Linked DNA regions of Homo sapiens: all the other regions are linked to region 6. Evidence: promoter capture Hi-C in human tissues and cell types (Jung and others, 2019). All regions are on one chromosome and are shown on one strand. The core of a region is centred on a gene start or on the middle of the fragment in contact, and the rest is flanking DNA. Distances in the headings are between cores, read along the strand shown. Region 1 has its middle 170 kb from the start of LINC02540. Region 2 has its middle 200 kb from the start of IMPG1. Region 3 overlaps PHIP (PHIP subunit of CUL4-Ring ligase complex). Region 4 has its middle 73 kb from the start of IMPG1. Region 5 has its middle 150 kb from the start of MIR10524. Region 6 holds the start of HTR1B (5-hydroxytryptamine receptor 1B).

What was found. The method cuts DNA at HindIII sites, captures the fragments that hold promoters and counts their contacts. A contact is called where the count stands out against the background at its distance.
Region 1: a contact is called between a fragment that was not itself captured here and the fragment with the promoter of HTR1B in region 6, in 1 of the 25 tissues and cell types used here (dorsolateral prefrontal cortex).
Region 2: a fragment that was not itself captured here is called in contact with the fragment with the promoter of HTR1B in region 6 in 1 of the 25 tissues and cell types used here (dorsolateral prefrontal cortex).
Region 3: a fragment that was not itself captured here is called in contact with the fragment with the promoter of HTR1B in region 6 in 1 of the 25 tissues and cell types used here (dorsolateral prefrontal cortex).
Region 4: a contact is called between a fragment that was not itself captured here and the fragment with the promoter of HTR1B in region 6, in 1 of the 25 tissues and cell types used here (dorsolateral prefrontal cortex).
Region 5: a fragment that was not itself captured here is called in contact with the fragment with the promoter of HTR1B in region 6 in 1 of the 25 tissues and cell types used here (dorsolateral prefrontal cortex).

Annotation. Positions count from the first base shown.
Region 1 is chr6:76,420,448-76,423,625 of GRCh38, reverse strand. No RefSeq gene overlaps it. Among named protein-coding and RNA genes, the nearest start is that of LINC02540, 170 kb to the left of the region's middle. RefSeq lists an enhancer at 352-935. The HindIII fragment of the contact is 3,289 bases long and covers 1-3,178 here.
Region 2 is chr6:76,268,165-76,270,986 of GRCh38, reverse strand. No RefSeq gene overlaps it. Among named protein-coding and RNA genes, the nearest start is that of IMPG1, 200 kb to the right of the region's middle. The HindIII fragment of the contact is 4,199 bases long and covers 1-2,822 here.
Region 3 is chr6:79,060,175-79,063,005 of GRCh38, reverse strand. PHIP (PHIP subunit of CUL4-Ring ligase complex) reads left to right here. Exons shown (of 40, transcript NM_017934.7): 5 at 2,188-2,338; 6 at 2,430-2,528. All of the region lies in intron 1 of LOC124901346 (a long non-coding RNA gene), which reads right to left. Among named protein-coding and RNA genes, the nearest start is that of PHIP, 17 kb to the left of the region's middle. The HindIII fragment of the contact is 3,531 bases long and covers 1-2,831 here.
Region 4 is chr6:76,144,342-76,147,315 of GRCh38, reverse strand. No RefSeq gene overlaps it. Among named protein-coding and RNA genes, the nearest start is that of IMPG1, 73 kb to the right of the region's middle. The HindIII fragment of the contact is 7,348 bases long and covers 1-2,974 here.
Region 5 is chr6:78,690,575-78,693,542 of GRCh38, reverse strand. No RefSeq gene overlaps it. Among named protein-coding and RNA genes, the nearest start is that of MIR10524, 150 kb to the right of the region's middle. The HindIII fragment of the contact is 3,957 bases long and covers 1-2,968 here.
Region 6 is chr6:77,462,044-77,464,958 of GRCh38, reverse strand. It overlaps HTR1B (5-hydroxytryptamine receptor 1B), which reads left to right and starts at 1,468. Exons shown (of 1, transcript NM_000863.3): 1 at 1,468-2,915. The coding sequence starts at 1,556. The coding sequence ends at 2,728. The region is part of intron 5 of LOC105377864; the gene reads right to left. RefSeq lists a silencer at 2,458-2,602. The HindIII fragment of the contact is 6,434 bases long and covers 1-2,915 here.

The sequences.
Region 1 (3,178 bases), core at 319-2,818, 1.0 Mb after region 6:
AGCTGAAAAGAATTCCATAATATAAATGTAATTTTTTTTCGTTTTTGTTATTAGCTATCTCCTACTTGTGGACCTATGGGTTATTTCCAGGTTTTCACTATTATAGAAAATGTTGCAATCAGAGTTGTGTGCATATTTGAAGACACTTCCGATTATTTCTATACAACTATTTCTTAGAGTGGAGTTAAAAAGTCTAGGAGTATGAAGGTTTTTCAAGCTTTTGATGCTTATTGATAAATTATTTTCACACAGGATTATATCAATTTGCCCTCCTGCCAGCAAAGCATAAGAGCATCAAATTTCTTTAAAGTAACAAATAAATACATGTCATATTAGACCTGATATTGAAGAGGGAGATAGAATAAAAACAATGAGAATTTATCACAGTCTCAAAAATGTGAGTTAACGTTGGGCCATTGAAAGGAGTGGTAGATAAAATGCCTAACCCAGACAGCTTTAACATTTCCCTCAGCTTGACTAAGCTTTAGACAGGCTTCTTCCTGATGCTAGGCTCCTGACCTTCCTTTTCTTTACAGCATTTACTTTAGAAAACTTCTAAGTGTAAATTCTCTCTTTGCCTCTTTGAGATGTAAATCTTCTAAAAAGCCTCTTGCTAGCTTTACAGCCCAGGATGTCCTTTCTCAAAGATGTGGGAGCCTTCCCTGTGAAATATAATCATCAGGGAAGGTATCTCTGTAGGAGGGCAGGAGCCAAACTATGAGCCCATCCTTGTGAAAGGATGGAAGCCTTGGTCCGAGTTGTAAAGCTACCTCTTGTCATAAAGATATGAGAAAGCTTACTTTTCCTTTGGGTGAGACCAGTTAGCAAACAGAGGCAGCCTATAATTTCCCTCACTCCAGCCCTTAAAAACTCTTTAGCGCTTTGTTTCTATGGAGATGAGGTGAGATTGAGTTTTGGCCTCTCTTCCCTATTGCAATAGCCTGGAATGAAGTCTTCCTTGTCTGTTTAACATTGTTCAGTGCAATTTTAGCTTTGACACTCCATAAACCCACCCAAAATAGCAGAATGTTTATGTGTGATATAATTGTAATTATTAAATGCTGTTAAACTACTTAAAAGACATCTTAAAATTCTGTTATTTCTATCACCTGTCATAAATTTACAATGCACTCTCAAGGTTATGACTTTTAAACTGTTTTTTACTTAGAAAATACTAAATTAATATACAACAAGCTTGTCCAACCTGCGGCCTGAGGGCCACATATGGCCCAGGATGCTTTTAAATGGAGCCCAACACAAATTTGTAAACTTTCTTAAAACATTATTAGTTGGTTTTTGTTTTGTTTTGTTTTGTTTTTGCTATTTTTATTTTCTAGCTCATCAGCAATTGTTAGTGTATTTTATGAGTGGCCCAAGACCATCCTTCTTCTTCCAATGTGGCCCAGGGAAGCCAAAAAGATTGGACATCCCTGCTGTAGCGCCTTGAACAAAACATGTATTTCTCTAATTCTGTTTCCTTACTTATAAAATGGAACCTGGTAAGTGGCTATTAAGATCTCCAAAGATCTAACAGTCTGGGGTCCAATTCATTCTTCACAAAATTCCAAATTACTGAGCAGATTATTCTGCTGCAGAATGTATTTCTACAACACTAATCAGCTCATAAACAATTGGAAAATAGAGAAACTATGTCAGAATAATATGGACATAATCTGGTTTATACATGATTTTTTATAAGCAAGGGGAAGTAGAAAATCAAGAGTAGAAACCGAACATTCAGCAATGAAGAATAAAGACTTCAGCCTATGCTGCTCAGGCAGCTGAAACCCTTTCCGTTCCATTTTAATAAAATTATAAATAAGTCCTGCACCAGGGCATCCCTCCTCCAAAAGGAACACTCAAGCTTTGTATTGCTGTGCCTGATGAGAGGTTGCACTCCCCAGAAAGAACACCTTCAAAGCAGCCCCTCTGGTTTAGAGTTCTACTTCTATCTATCTACCTGCCTCTATGCTAATTAAGAGCTACTAGTATTTCTGTCAGAGGCACGTGAAACAGAACAACTCCATCTTAAATAGGAGCTGGGTAAAATGAGGCTGAAACCTACTAGTCTGCATTCCCAGATGGTTAAGGCATTCTAAGTCACAGGATGAGATAGGAGGTCAGCATGAAATACAGGTTATAAAGACCTTGCTAATAAAACGCGTTTCAGAAAAGGAGCCGGCCAAAACCCACCAAAACTAACATGGGACGAGAGTAACGTGTGGTCATCCTCACAGCTACACTCCCACCAGCACCATGACAGTTTACAAATGCCATGGCAATCTCAGAAAGTTACCCTATATGGTTAAAAAGAGGAGGCATGAATAATCCACCCATTGTTTAGCGTATCATCAAGAAATAACCATAAAAATGGGCAACGATTTTTGGAGTAGCCATTCTTTATTCCTTTACTTTCTTAATAAACTTGCTTTCACTTTGCACTGCAAACTCATCCTGAATTCTTTCTTGTGCGAAATCCAAGAACCCTCTCTTGGGGTCTGGATCCAAACCCCTTTCCTGTAACATTTTCATTGTATTTTTTTTTGTACATTTTTAGTATCCTCTGTGCCATCCTCTAGCCATACTGAACTGCCTGCCTGAGTGATGTGTTTTCTACCAAAGTACCAGTTACTCTTCTGTGTAGTGCTGTGGTCACAAAGTTGCACTGGTGGGAATGGTCTCCCCTCACCCTCACTCTTTGCCCCATTAGATCCTCTTAGTTCTAGTGGAAATTTTTGTAGAACATCAAGTTTTTGGTTGTTGTATTTTTTTCAAAAACACAGAACCTCTGTACTTATAATCATACCTCCTCCAAAACTATCAGAAACTGCAAAAATACGGTAATAAGGCTCTTACATTGCTCACCTATTTATCCAAAAATTATTTAAGTGCCTGCCACATGCCAGGGACTGTGCTCATCTCTTCTATTGCTTCATTTGAAGCAAGCAACAAACAAAAACACCTGAAAATTTTGCATCTCCAATAATGATGGATATATTGTTGGTACATTTACATTAATATTTTCCATCCAAATATTCTTTATTGCATTAAAATTTATTGTAGAACTTAGAGTGTTCTTCTTTTAAAAACTCAATTTATTTTGCTACTTCTACAGAGAGCTATAACTCAGATTCCTCTTACTGGTGGTTCAGCACTTTCCCCACCTCACTTTCATTGG
Region 2 (2,822 bases), core at 139-2,638, 1.2 Mb after region 6:
TCAAAGATCAGTTGGCTGTAAGTTTTGGCTTTATTTCTGAGTTCTCTATCCTGTTCCATTGGTGTATGTATCTACTATTATACCAGTACCATGCTACTTTGTTTACTATAGCTTTGTAGTATAATTTGAAGTAATGTGATGTCTCCAAATTTGTTTTTTTTGATTAGAATTGCTATGGTTATTCAGGCTCCTTTTTGGTTCCATATGAATTTTATAATTGTTTTTTCTAACTCTGTGAACAATGACATTAATATTTTGATTGGAATTATATAGAATCCATAGATTGCTTTGGGCAGGATGGTAATTTTCATGATTTTGATTCTTTTAACCCATGAATGTGGAATATTTTTTCATTTGTTTGGGGCATCTCTGATTTCTTTCATCAGTGTTTCATAGTTCTCCTCATAGAGATCTTTCACATTCTTGGTTAAGGATAATCCTAAGTGTATTACATTTTTGTAGGTATTGTAAAAGGTTTGAGTTCTTGATTTGATTCTCAGCTTGGCCATTGTTGGTTTTTAGCAGTGCTACTGATTTGCATGCATTGATTTTATAATCTGAGAGTTTACTGAATTCATTTATCAAATCTAGGACTCTTTTGGAGGAGTCTTTATGGTTTTCTAAATATAAGATCATATCACTGGCAAACAGATAATTTGACTTTTTTTCCAATTTGAATGCCCTTTCTTTCTTTCTCTTGCCTAAATGCTCTGGCTAGAACTTCCATTTTTACAATAAAATCCATCAAATATTTTAAAAAGAGAGACTGACTTAATTCTCCCTTGAAAATAAGTGAAGAGATTTCCCTCTCTTCCTTTTTCTTAGAGCATTTACCTCAGAAAACTATTAATTGTTAGCACTTTCTCTTCTCTCTGGAATGTATTTAAATCCTTTTGAAGATTAAAATTGGCATTTAATCAGTTTTATGAGCCATGAAGTTATTTCTCAAGGACTGGGAGCCATCTCTGTGAAATGTAAACATCAAAAAGAATAGGCCCCTATTTCCCAGTTTCTGTGGAAGAGTGGGAATTAACTTCAGTGGATACCTTGCTCAAAGTGGCAAAACTACCTCTTGGCATAAAATTAAGAGAAGCTTATTTTTCCTTTAGATAAAGCCAATTATCTAACACAGATGGTCACGCTAATTACTAGGTGAATTTAGAATGAACTCTATGTGACAAATGGTACAATCAAGTCCTCTTAGAGACTAGTTACTGTTTATCATGAGAACATGTATGGAATGTATAGAATGGATTATAGTTTGGTTATATGTAAGGGTGACATTTCTTTCTGTCTTTGTAATCTCTTAACATATTGCCTGTGATATGAATCACATGCTGGTTTAAAGCTTATTCAATAATAAAATTGTTTTTCTATAGTACTTTAGTGGACAGGTTTTCTGATATGGGAGATTTTATTTTTAATTATATTTCCCCAACATCTTTTTTTTTAATCTGCTAGTAACAACCCAGTGCTCAGCTTCAGACTTGATCTCTAGAGTAGAAATTTTGATAGGAGAATCTAATGGTTGACCTGAATGAAATCAGGTATCTCTCCACCCTTACCATATGTCCCTATGCAAGGGAATAGGGTAGGGAGGGATGCAGGGTCAAGTAATGTAAATGTAACTAGGAAACAGGGAGGGAAGGTTCTCAAAGAAGGAGGGCTGCTCATGTACAACCACTCTCCCACACACACACTTCAAAGTACAAAAGGCAACTTTTAGCAGATAGGCAGACAACTGGGATTTTTCACATTTGTACATTATTCTATTTAAATTTGATTACATTGACTAAACATGTGCACATCAATTCACATTTCAATAACACTGAATTATTGAAATTATTTGAACCATTTCCATGAATCTCTCATGTCCCAGGATACTTGGGGTGATATCCTAAAAAAAACATTTCATTATTCTCATAAATACAGATGTTTAATTAAAAGATTTTGATGTTACAAATGCTACTGTATTTTTCTAACCTCTTTATTTTTTGTCCTCAAAAATATTAAGCCAAATGGATACATTTCCTTAGTGCTTTTAAGTAATTAGCAAAACAAAATACTCTCTGAAGAATGGAAATGTAGTTTTCCTACTTCTTTCCCTCAGTCATGAAAGACAAGCAGATGGTCTCTTATCAGTGTAAACAGCTATCAGAATGGCAATGGTGGCCAGATGAAAGAATAAACTTAGAAATGAAAGGGCAGAAATAGATGAGTTTAAAAAAAGAAGAAACATCTGCTTTTGAATTAACAAAAAGAACACAGCAGTTAAGGTCTAACAATGGATATTTTGTGTTTGGCAAATAGCGTAACTATATAAACTACTTAAGAGCCGTTCATAGACGTATTGTATTCCCAGGTATTTCATACTGACCCAATTGTCTCAGAAACAAAACATTTTATTGGATGAGGCAAGTCAGTGAGGAACCATTCAGCCATGTCTTTATCATGGATTCTGTGGTTGAGGTCTCTAGAGATAACTGTCAAGTTTGGCAAAAAAGTAAGTGAAACTACAAAAGGAGTAAGACTTGTAAAACATTCTCTCAAATTCAAGAGTAGAAATAAAACATGACAAAGTATAGGAGAAGAAAAAAAATTTAGATAGTTATATTTTGGCAGTCTTTACACAGGTATTAGTTGATAGATGATAACCTATTCTGGATTTAATAATTTCCTTTTGAAACTAATTGTGCTTTCACTTCAGCTGCCTATTTCTGGGAAGGTAAAATTAAGAGAAATAAAATCTCATTATTATATCACTGTACAGAAGTTTTTCTACAAAACAATGCCTTTTTTTAAAAAGGAGTAAAACGTTTAAT
Region 3 (2,831 bases), core at 157-2,656, 1.6 Mb before region 6:
TAAGTACTACACAGTGCTAGAGGGATGAAGGGACATTCGAGGAGTATAATGTGCTGTGGGAACACAAAGTGTCCAAAAAGGGGCACAGGTGGTGTAAATAGGTCATGGAAGGCAGTGAGTGAGACATAGACTGAGACATGAAGGAGAATGAGGTGTAGAGGTGAGCAGGTAAGACAAGATTGCCAGCAGAGGCATCAGCTTGTATAAAGTCTCAAAAGCCAGAGAAAGCACAAGGAATTTAAGAACTGGAAGTATCTCTTCTAACTTTAAAATGAAAGTTGATTTTGAAAAATTCAAACATTCTAAATCACCAAAGAAAGCTTGAGTCAGAGTGGATTCATAATATTTTATTGAAAGATAGAATATTACAGTAAGGATTTTCAGTTTCACTACCTGAAAATATATTTTGCCAGAGGATACTAAAACAGGATCATCACACATCTGAAGTTAATAAGTAATGAACTTCCATCTTCTTTAAAGTAAAATTTTTAAAAGGAATTTTGATCAATTAAGTCACATTAAAATAATCATTTGCAAGCTTAGAACTGGAAGCAACCTTACAAGTATTCTAGACTTCTAAATTTTATTTTTGAGTAAATTATTTTGGGGAAGATTAAAGAAAAGTATACGATTTTAAAAACTCATTTTGGTAAGTTTTCTTTTAAATGCTTTTTAATTTAGCTAATCATACTAGTGTTTCCTAAAGTATGTTCTGAGTGAATATGATAGATATTATTAGGGAAAAAAGGGATTCTGTAGCTAAATGAGTTTGGGAAATAATCTCAGGATTTTTCAGAGACTTCAATGTCAGTGTGCTTTTTGACTGCAAAACAAGGAGGTAATATGTATAATTCATATGATACAAACTGTATTAGAACTCCTTTTTCCAAAAATACTCATTTTACTGGCTTATCACCTACTGTATGCCAAACTGCTGTTTTAAATAATCTTACCAAAGATTATTTGGTGGCAGTATGGCTCCATGTTATCTTTGTGAAAGAAGGAGTGTATTTTGATAAAGAGTAAGGTAGGTTTCTCCTATTGGCTTCAGTTTAGATGGGTATTAGCTACCTTTAAAAACATATCATTCATGGATTTCTGCAGTTAAGAGTATAGCAGATATTGCAAGATGGAATGAGATGATTTAAATCCTCACCTCCCCCCACATCAGTCTTATCAAAAGGAATTCATGTTAAAGTTGCCATTACTTGGTAAACTTGAGGAACAATTTTCAAATTTCTTGGTCTTAGGACCCCTTTACACTTACTAAAATGTATTGAAGTTCCTTTATTTGTGTAGCTTATAATCTATTGGTATTTACCATATTAGAAACTTAGCATTTAACATATTGGAGACCTATTAAATAATACTAATAAACTAATCTTATTTTAATATAAGTAACATTTTTATAATAATTATTCCCAAACAAAACAAATTTGTGAGAAGCGTGGCATTGTTTTACATTTCTGTGAATCTTTAATATCTGGCTTAATAGAGGAGACATTTTCCTATCTGCTTCTGCATTCAGTCTGTTAAGACATCACATGTTATGTGTCCTGTGGAAACCTCCACCGTGCATTCATGAGAAAAAGTGAAAAACAACTAATATAGTGTTATTCATAAGTTTTATCTGAGGGACCTCCAGGGGTTCCCAAAACATACTTTGAGAATAGCTGAACTAGATACTACTGTGGAAATTTTTTTCTAACTTGATAGCTAATTATGAAGTAATACAATAGTATTTTTTTCCAATATAATTTTATTTAGATAGTGAATATTGTTTATTTACTGAAAGACTAATAAAAATATTAGCATTTCATGTCATGGTTTCAAATGCCGGTATAAATTAAGCAGTATTTTGAAGTTGTTCCAAAAGTGCTCAAACTTTTTATAGTGGGTAGCTTTATTTTATGATTGAAAGATATTTAAAGCAGCAGTTGGAATTTTGCCTTTCTCTCTGTAAGGTTTTTGGTAAATTATGAAATTCAGCATAGATGTTAAGTGTTCTTAAATTTTTTAATAACAAACTATCAGTTCTTAATTCTTAATTATTCTGGAGATTTACTTTACATCAAAGACGCAAAACAAAATATTTTATACTTGGATGAATTTTTTTATTGTTGCTCAAAGATTTTGAAAATTAAAATGATAAACTGAAACCTACTATATTTGTCTTTTACATAATAGGTGAAGTATTACAGACACTTAGCACCTGATCACTTGCTGCAAATATGTCATCGACTAGGACCTCTTCTTGAACAAGAAATTCCTCAAAGTGTTCCTGGAGTACAAACTTTATTAGGAGCTGGAAGACAGTCTTTACTACGCACAAATAAAAGTATGAAAATTTTCTCATAGGATTTAGACATTATTTATCTCACTTTTGTTTTTGTGTTCTTTGTATGCATAAAAATACATGTGTTTAATAGGCTGCAAGCATGTTGTGTGGAAAGGATCTGCTCTGGCTGCGTTGCACTGTGGAAGACCACCTGAGTCACCAGTTAACTATGGTAGCCCACCCAGCATTGGTGAGTTGTTTGAGTTCACTAGTAGTTAATAGCCTCTTGGTAAAGAGCTTTTGAAAATGAAAAGGTTTTTTAGTTACTGTGGTATTAGAGAACTTCATATTATGTACATCTGCATTCAAAAAGAAAAAAATAGATTTTTTTTCTTAGTAGTAGTTTTAATAGTGAAAAAGTCATGTATAATGAGGGATTGTGCACATTGCACCTTATGTAGGCCAATTAGCTCATTGGAATTTTATTTTTACGAAAGTTCCATATTAAGGTATATATTATTAGGTCGAGTTAGTAGAATCAATATATAATTCA
Region 4 (2,974 bases), core at 131-2,630, 1.3 Mb after region 6:
TGCTATTTACCCGAACTCTCAGTTGGTCAGTAGCTAAAGTGAATATGAACCTAGGCAGAGCCCATGCATTCAAACACTATACTACTCTCCCTCCCGAAAAATTGTGTTATCTGATAATAATTTATCCATGCAAAATAGTTTATAGTATTCAGGGCACCTTTATCAATAATGTTGCTTTGGACTTTTGCAATGGCATGGAAAGTATCACCATCATTTTCCAGGTAACTGAGAGTTAAATGCTGAAGATTCCAAAGCTAGTAGAATGTTGCTTCAATGTGGATCCAGCCAGAGAAACAGCAACCACACTCATTACTTCAATTTAAGGTGATTTAATGCAAGGAATTGGTTACTAAAGTGTTGAAAGGGCTAATGGAGAAGAAAGAAGAAGGTAATCAGTAATGACAGAAACAACTCCCATCCCTAGGGTTTGAGGAACACAAGAAAAAGTGGTGCTTTCCAGAGTCAATGAACACTGCAGCACTAAGCAGAAATATGGGAGCCAAGTGCCTCCTGACAGGAAACCTGGAGCCAGCCATTTTGCTAAAGCTTCTGGACTAGTTTATTTCTCTTCAAGAGCCCACAGTCACTTGCTATTGCTCCTGTAGCTGTTGAAGCCAGAAGAAGGAATAAACAAAAACAGAAACAGCTTATCTATTCCTCCCACCTTATGATCTTATACAAGCTCTCCCACTGGCTGAGTCAAAGGTTTCCAGGAAATATGGCTTTCAAACTTCCATATATGCAATACAAAGGAGATTTAGAGGTCAAGCACCAAACTGACAGCCAACAGACCTGACACAATGGCAGAAACAGAACTGAACTCAGGACTTCTGAATTAGAGTCAATTATTTTCATTCAATATGTATTTATGCAACTACTCTGAGGCAGGCATTATAATAGCTGTTTGTTAGGGGTTACCATTATGAAACAGGTGTACCCGAACATCTCCTTTTGGAGCTTCAAGTGTAGTAGAAGTGAATAACGGAACTCTTTCCATTATATTCCATCCTCTGGACAAAGATGAGAGCACCATTATGGCTGAAAGAGTTTGTTGGATCTTGCTGTGTCAACTTGATTAAACTGGGAACTGCATTTCCCAGTCTTCCCTTCTTTGTATATTTCTGAGTTAGAGTTTGCCAAAGAGGAATTTGCACAAGGTTGGAAGGCAGACATGAAATGGAGCTATTACTTTCAGAAGTCTTTGTGGTAAGACACTATTATGGGCATACACAGAAGTGTCTGCTAGATCTCAACTCTTTTCCCCTCAACCAGCTTGTCTTCCCAGTCATTGGTTCTGCTGGCCACCTAACATTTGGCTGCATGGAGGAAGTAATTATACAGAGGCAGATGCTTCCTATGGACCATTCTGTGAGCTGTTCCTTCACAGTCTCATTTCAGCAGCCAGACATGCTTTGCTTTGCAGATTTCCCTGCAAATTCTAATTTGTCCACTCATGCTAGTACACCAGGAAGACTGGTTAGTGACTCCTCTGACTGTCTCTTGCAAAACTTCACTTCCCAGCCCCCCAATAGTTACCTGCAGTCTAGTCCCTACTTAAAAATCCCTCATCTCAAAAATTCAAAATGGCCCTACTATCCTGACTAATAAAGGTACCATAGTCTCTTTGGTGTTTCCAAAAATAAGCAGACTTATAGAATCCTAGAAAGAACTGCTACATGCTATACTAAATCATTTCTTAGGCACATTTCATGGTGATTTCTCACATGTCTAAGACATATTCAGCTCTCAGCATATTCCTATCCAAATCATTAGCATAGTACTCTGATCTGGCTACAAAATGCAATCCTAGTTGCACCTCTGACAGTAAATTAATGAATAATTCAGCAAAATGCTCTAGCAGGTCTCCAAGGAGCTATGAATGGATGACCAAAAAAATATAAGACGATTTGAAATGTTTCTCTTTCTACAAAACAAGTTTATTTTCTTCACTGCTCATGTTAGTTGAATTTTTCTCCTTTTCCTGGTATAATGCTTAATTCCCTGTACTAAAACGCTAACATGACAAGTCTTCTCAACTTGCTTGCAGGTAATTAATTGTCTTATTGACCATGTATTAGAAACAGAGAATATTAACTACCTTTTTTTGTGCTGTCATGATAATTACCAGAACAGAGTTGGCAAAATCCAGCTCATCAATAAAAATCAGTAGTTGTCTTCTTGATCAACAAAAAAAAATAAATAAATAAATAAATAAGGGCTTTGGAAAGATAATCAGGTATTCTTTTCCATGAGTCACTAAACCATTAAGTGTAATTTTCCTCTATGGTTTCAGAGTTGTAATAGAAAATGTCACCATCCAAACTATTTGAAGTGCTGACCAATGAGGGTGAGGCTAATAGAAAGACTTTTGACAACAGCAGAGGGAAATTTCTGAAGTCCCCCAGCAGCTTATCCTCATTCAATACATTTAGTTAATAGTATATAGTGAATATATCAACAAAAAATACAAACCTAGGATGGAAGGACTAGAAGCTCTGAGGGATTTGGATAGCCAGAAGCAAGGATTCAAGTCAGAGTTCCAGAGATGCAAATACAAACCAAAGAGGTGGTGGTGTTCTAGAAACCCTATACAACACTGGGCATGCAAGACACTATTTTGGGATTTATCTAGACAGAATGAGGTGAGAAGGGGGGAAGAGAGGGTAAGAGATGCCACTCATGTTAGCAGAGCAGTTTGGTTCAGAGGCCTTGGTGCAGGATAGTTCAGAGAGGAATGCAATCGGGAACAGAAAGCAACAGTCACAGAAGAAGGAACAATAGCAGCAGAAAGATGCTTCAAGAGGCTCTAAGGACCAGTTTGTAAAGGAAGTCAGAAAAGGAAAAATATTGCAGAAGACACAAGTACCTGAAAGCACATACCCAGAAGCAATAATCACACATGCTCTGCAGACTTTGAGGTCTAACTGGAGAGATTTTTGCAGGAGCAGGGGACTTGAAAGTATCACAGTAGCAG
Region 5 (2,968 bases), core at 227-2,726, 1.2 Mb before region 6:
CTGTTAAAGAAAACCAATCAAAATTATATTTTTTGATATTAAAATTAGAACAAGGGAAAGGACACTTTGCAGAGTTGAGTTTCTGTTACAGAAACAATGATTATGACACATATACATTGTATTTTGATGACAACCACATTTTCAACCTTTAATGAGATTGTTGCACTGAGCAAAATATAATTTAAAGATAAACTACTTTTCACCTTTTACACCCATGTAATTAACTCCCAGTGACTTGGGTGAAACTTAGGTCCCCAGGAGAGCTGCTAGCAAGAATTTTAAGATGGCCTTTAACCTTTTACACCCATATAATTAACTCCCAATGACTTGGGTGAAACTTAGGTCCTCAGGAGAGCTGCTGGCAAGACTTTTAACATGGTCATTGGTAGGAGCATTCACAGACTCCCTGCTTTGGTAGACGTTTTGGATGTTGTTTAGTAATATTGAGGGAAGAGACAGTAACATCCTAATCCTTCTGGGACCCACTGCTCTAGAAGCATGACTGACATTTACACTGCCCTTCTCACCTATGGTGCTTGGGAATCCTTTTTTTCAGGGAGATTATCAACCTATACCAATTTGTTTCATTTTCACAGCATGCTGAGTTATCTCTCAGGGCAATTCTCAGATCTGTCTTATAGTTTTACGTGGCAAAAAGTCAAAGAATATATGAACGACTAGATTACTTTTATACTTCATTAGTGTATTATAATTGTAATATGCTTATAATACTTTTAATTAGCTAATTCTCTCTCCTTAGGCACCTGCTATGAGTCTGAAACTCTGCTAAGCCTTTCACAGATCTAACACTATTTAATGGGTATGACACAATGAAAGTATTCATTTTTTTTCCCACAGGAAGGGAATTGAAATATTTAGAGATGCTAACTTGCCTAACTGAGATTACATAGCATTTAAACTAGCAGAGCCATATTTTCCTGACTGCAAAGCCCATGCTCTAGCTCAGTGTATTCCAATGCCCATCACATCAGCGCTCCAGCTGCCCTAGAAACAACTCCTTCCCCCAACTGCTGCCCTTGAGAGTGAGACTGAAGGGTCTATTATCTGGGCAGCATACTAGTTACTTGGCTCAAACCCAATATACATATATTCTCACCTAAACAATGCCATTATAGTTATTTTTATACTGAATTAATTCTCCTACTTTAGCATTAATGCATATGCAAGACTGATGTCATTGCCAGGGTTGGAGAAGAAACCTAGAGCCCCTCAACTTCTCATTGCCCTCTAGCTACCCTTGTGTCACATCCTCTTGCTCTGCCCTTCTCTCCCTAAATTTCATACATTCTTCTTCATCCATTAGAACTACCACATTTACAGTGTATGCATCCCAACAAGGTGTTCAGATGGAGCTGCTTGAATGAATCTTTTCTAAGTTTTAACTAGGTGATATCTCCTACCTTATGAGGGATACTTATTAAACAAAATTAATTTCTACATGTTACAATTTCAGCCAATAGGGGGCAAACAATTTGGGTCTGACCACTCAGCATTCTGCATGTATGAGCTCTGGGGACAGACAGGGGAAAGAAGCCCTAATAGTTTGTGCATCTCCATAGCTGTAACCTGGCTAGGAGGTGACACTTAAATAGAGAACTGTTGGGATTAGGCAACTGAATCTATTAGCTTCAAAGCTTTCTGCCCATTGAATTTCCTACTTTCCCCCCAACAGCTAACTACTGAAATATTTTGTGGGACTGTACGTGAAAGTATTAATTATTTATGGTCATTAAAGTCACCTACTTGTAAATCATGTCCAACTGTATTGCAGCACAAAATCAATTATACCCATTTTAAAGAACTGGTTTAATTCATCTGCCTGGAAATCCTCTTTAATAGCAGCTCTACATTCTCTTCCCCAGATACTTAGGCTTTACGTCTTGTAGCATACATAAAATGCCCAAAGTTCTGCTTGGAATCTTGAATCATTAGAGAAAATAATGCACCAGGAACAGCATCAAATCATGCTTAGCTACTGGGAAATCATAGAAGTATCTTGGTAGAATTATAGTAGCATGACCTTTGAAAACAGTCAGAACTGGGTTTAATCCCAATTTTGAATTTATTAGGCAGCGTATAATCCTGAACATATTTCTTAACCTTGGATTTCTCCCCTAAAAGGTAAAGATAATAATAAATTACTTCTAGTAATGTGTGTTTAAATAGCTTAATAAATATAAATTCTCCTACAGGCTGTTAATACCTAGGGCTGTGGGGCTGATCAGAACTGCCTTTGGCAGACACAGGAACTGCTTATACATTCATTCATTCATTCATTCATTCATTCACTTTACAAATGTTTGAATACTAGGCACAGGTAGAGGGCTTAATTGAGAAAGGAACTTAACAGACTCCAAGGCTAATTGAATTTTAGTATTGCTTATTATTTGCTGGCATTTCTCTTTGTTCACGCTTGTGTGGTAAATAACTAGCAGACCTGTCTTTGAGCTTGAATGTTCTGTCTAAATTTCTCTTTCCTGTGGATGAGACATCCTGTCTTGGGCTTTTTAATAAAATATTAATAAATAAGGGAAGCTTTTCCTTAACAGAGAAAAAAACATTGTATTGCATGTGTTCTCCTTCGGACCAGAAACTTTAGAGCAGAATTGATTGTATTACAAGCACTTAATAACCAGTCTTTTAATTTCATTCTATGGATGTATGTTGAGATGAGACAGGAGACTTTGGCATTGAAGAGCCCAAGTCATGATTCCCTTCTCTGTCTTCCAAAATCTTGTGTTGATTTTCTAATCTTAGAAAGCCATTTTCTTAATGGAATAAACAGACTTGGAGAAAGTAGGTGGCTTTAAGTGTGAAACTACAGAGTCAGGGCAAAATCAGGCTCGCAGGGTCTATTATATTCAAAGTTGGGAAGTTCTTATGTTTTAATTATAATTAAGTCAGAAGTACTTTGATAATTACTACCAGGATGCATGCATATTTTTAT
Region 6 (2,915 bases), core at 219-2,718:
TGGCTTCTGTTTGTGATAACTTTTACATTTTCGCAGATAGCTTGTCTTTTTCCCTGTTGACTCATAGTTGAGTGAAAAACACAAATTTCTAAAACTAGATGAAAAAATAGTTTTTATTGTATCAAGAGTTAAGGACGGCAAAGTACAAAATGCAAACATTGGGCCCTCTACAGCGATATTACTGGTGCCTCCTAACCTGGGTGTGGCCATCAGGGCTGGATATGATTTTAGAGCGGAGAGGTCAGAGACCAGGGCTTCCCCGCCTAACACTGGCCTCCTAGGGTGGGAGTGGTAGGCAGGAGCCTAGGGCCAGACTGCTGGACTAAACCTGTGACCATGGCTAAGGACATGGGTCTCACTGGAGGTCAGCGCAGCAAGCTCTGATGTCCGTAGAGGCGAGAACAGGACGCCTTCTTCCCCTGACCAGAAATGCAGCTCCAGGTTGTCAGGGCTGGGAGGATGGCCCAGGGTGGGAAGCGGGGAGATAGGGCGGTAGGACCCGGCGGGAGCTTCCTTGGCCAGGAAAGGAACAGGGCGGGGGGAAAAGAGGGAGGGAGAGAGAAAAAGGGAAGGTGATGGGGAGCGGGCGTCCGCACCCGCCGCGCCGCACGAGTTGCACTGCTCTGGCGGACCGGACCTGGACTCTATATAAAGAGCCCATCTGCTCCGTAGCTCGCACGCTTCTCCCGGGCTGGTGCACGCCGCGTCCCTCCAGCTCCCCCAGACACCTGCCCCTTCCCAGTGTGCCGCGCCAGGTCCTCCAGACCCGCGCACCCAGTGGCATGGCTCCGAGTGGCTCCCGTGGGACCAGGGTGGCGGTGGCGGCGGCGCGGCCCGAGCAGCCGCAACTCCAGCCCCCGTGTCCCCCCTTTTATGGCTCCGTCTCCGCGGGGCAGCTCGTCCGAGTGGCCAGAGAGTGAAAAGAGAGGGAGGGCAGAGCTCCGGCGCGAGGCGCGGCGCAGCGCTGCTCCTAGACTTCACCCCACCCAGCTCTGGCGGCCGCTGCAGCCCCCCAAAAGTGCCCCAGCTTGGGGCGAGGGGTGGGAATGCAAGATCTCGGGACCTCTCGCTGGCCTGCAAGCTTTGGTCTCTACACCTAGGAAACTCCTGTGGGCAAAGTCTGCAGATCCAAAAGCGTCCAGGTTAGGAGACGCTCAGCCTCAAGCAACTGGGGTAAGAGATCCCATTTGGTCAAAGCCTTCTCCTCAAGCAGTACTTCACCCTCCTGCACTAGACGCCTCCAGGGAGCTGGAGCGGAGCAGGGCTCGGTGGGCCAGCTCTTAGCAACCCAGGTCTAAGACCCGGTGTGGAGAGGAACAACCACAGACGCGGCGGCTTAGCTAGGCGCTCTGGAAGTGCAGGGGAGGCGCCCGCCTGCCTTGGCTGCCGCACCCATGACCTCTAGTTTCAGCTGTGAACCTGGGCGGAGGAATAATTGAGGAACTCACGGAACTATCAACTGGGGACAAACCTGCGATCGCCACGGTCCTTCCGCCCTCTCCTTCGTCCGCTCCATGCCCAAGAGCTGCGCTCCGGAGCTGGGGCGAGGAGAGCCATGGAGGAACCGGGTGCTCAGTGCGCTCCACCGCCGCCCGCGGGCTCCGAGACCTGGGTTCCTCAAGCCAACTTATCCTCTGCTCCCTCCCAAAACTGCAGCGCCAAGGACTACATTTACCAGGACTCCATCTCCCTACCCTGGAAAGTACTGCTGGTTATGCTATTGGCGCTCATCACCTTGGCCACCACGCTCTCCAATGCCTTTGTGATTGCCACAGTGTACCGGACCCGGAAACTGCACACCCCGGCTAACTACCTGATCGCCTCTCTGGCGGTCACCGACCTGCTTGTGTCCATCCTGGTGATGCCCATCAGCACCATGTACACTGTCACCGGCCGCTGGACACTGGGCCAGGTGGTCTGTGACTTCTGGCTGTCGTCGGACATCACTTGTTGCACTGCCTCCATCCTGCACCTCTGTGTCATCGCCCTGGACCGCTACTGGGCCATCACGGACGCCGTGGAGTACTCAGCTAAAAGGACTCCCAAGAGGGCGGCGGTCATGATCGCGCTGGTGTGGGTCTTCTCCATCTCTATCTCGCTGCCGCCCTTCTTCTGGCGTCAGGCTAAGGCCGAAGAGGAGGTGTCGGAATGCGTGGTGAACACCGACCACATCCTCTACACGGTCTACTCCACGGTGGGTGCTTTCTACTTCCCCACCCTGCTCCTCATCGCCCTCTATGGCCGCATCTACGTAGAAGCCCGCTCCCGGATTTTGAAACAGACGCCCAACAGGACCGGCAAGCGCTTGACCCGAGCCCAGCTGATAACCGACTCCCCCGGGTCCACGTCCTCGGTCACCTCTATTAACTCGCGGGTTCCCGACGTGCCCAGCGAATCCGGATCTCCTGTGTATGTGAACCAAGTCAAAGTGCGAGTCTCCGACGCCCTGCTGGAAAAGAAGAAACTCATGGCCGCTAGGGAGCGCAAAGCCACCAAGACCCTAGGGATCATTTTGGGAGCCTTTATTGTGTGTTGGCTACCCTTCTTCATCATCTCCCTAGTGATGCCTATCTGCAAAGATGCCTGCTGGTTCCACCTAGCCATCTTTGACTTCTTCACATGGCTGGGCTATCTCAACTCCCTCATCAACCCCATAATCTATACCATGTCCAATGAGGACTTTAAACAAGCATTCCATAAACTGATACGTTTTAAGTGCACAAGTTGACTTGCCGTTTGCAGTGGGGTCGCCTAAGCGACCTTTGGGGACCAAGTTGTGTCTGGTTCCACAGGTAGGTCGAATCTTCTTTCGCGGTTTCTGGGTCCCAGCGAGGCTCTCTCTCCTGGGCAAGGGCAATGGATCCTGAGAAGCCAGAATAGTCCTGAGAGAGAGCTCTGAAAGGAGAAGTGTTGAA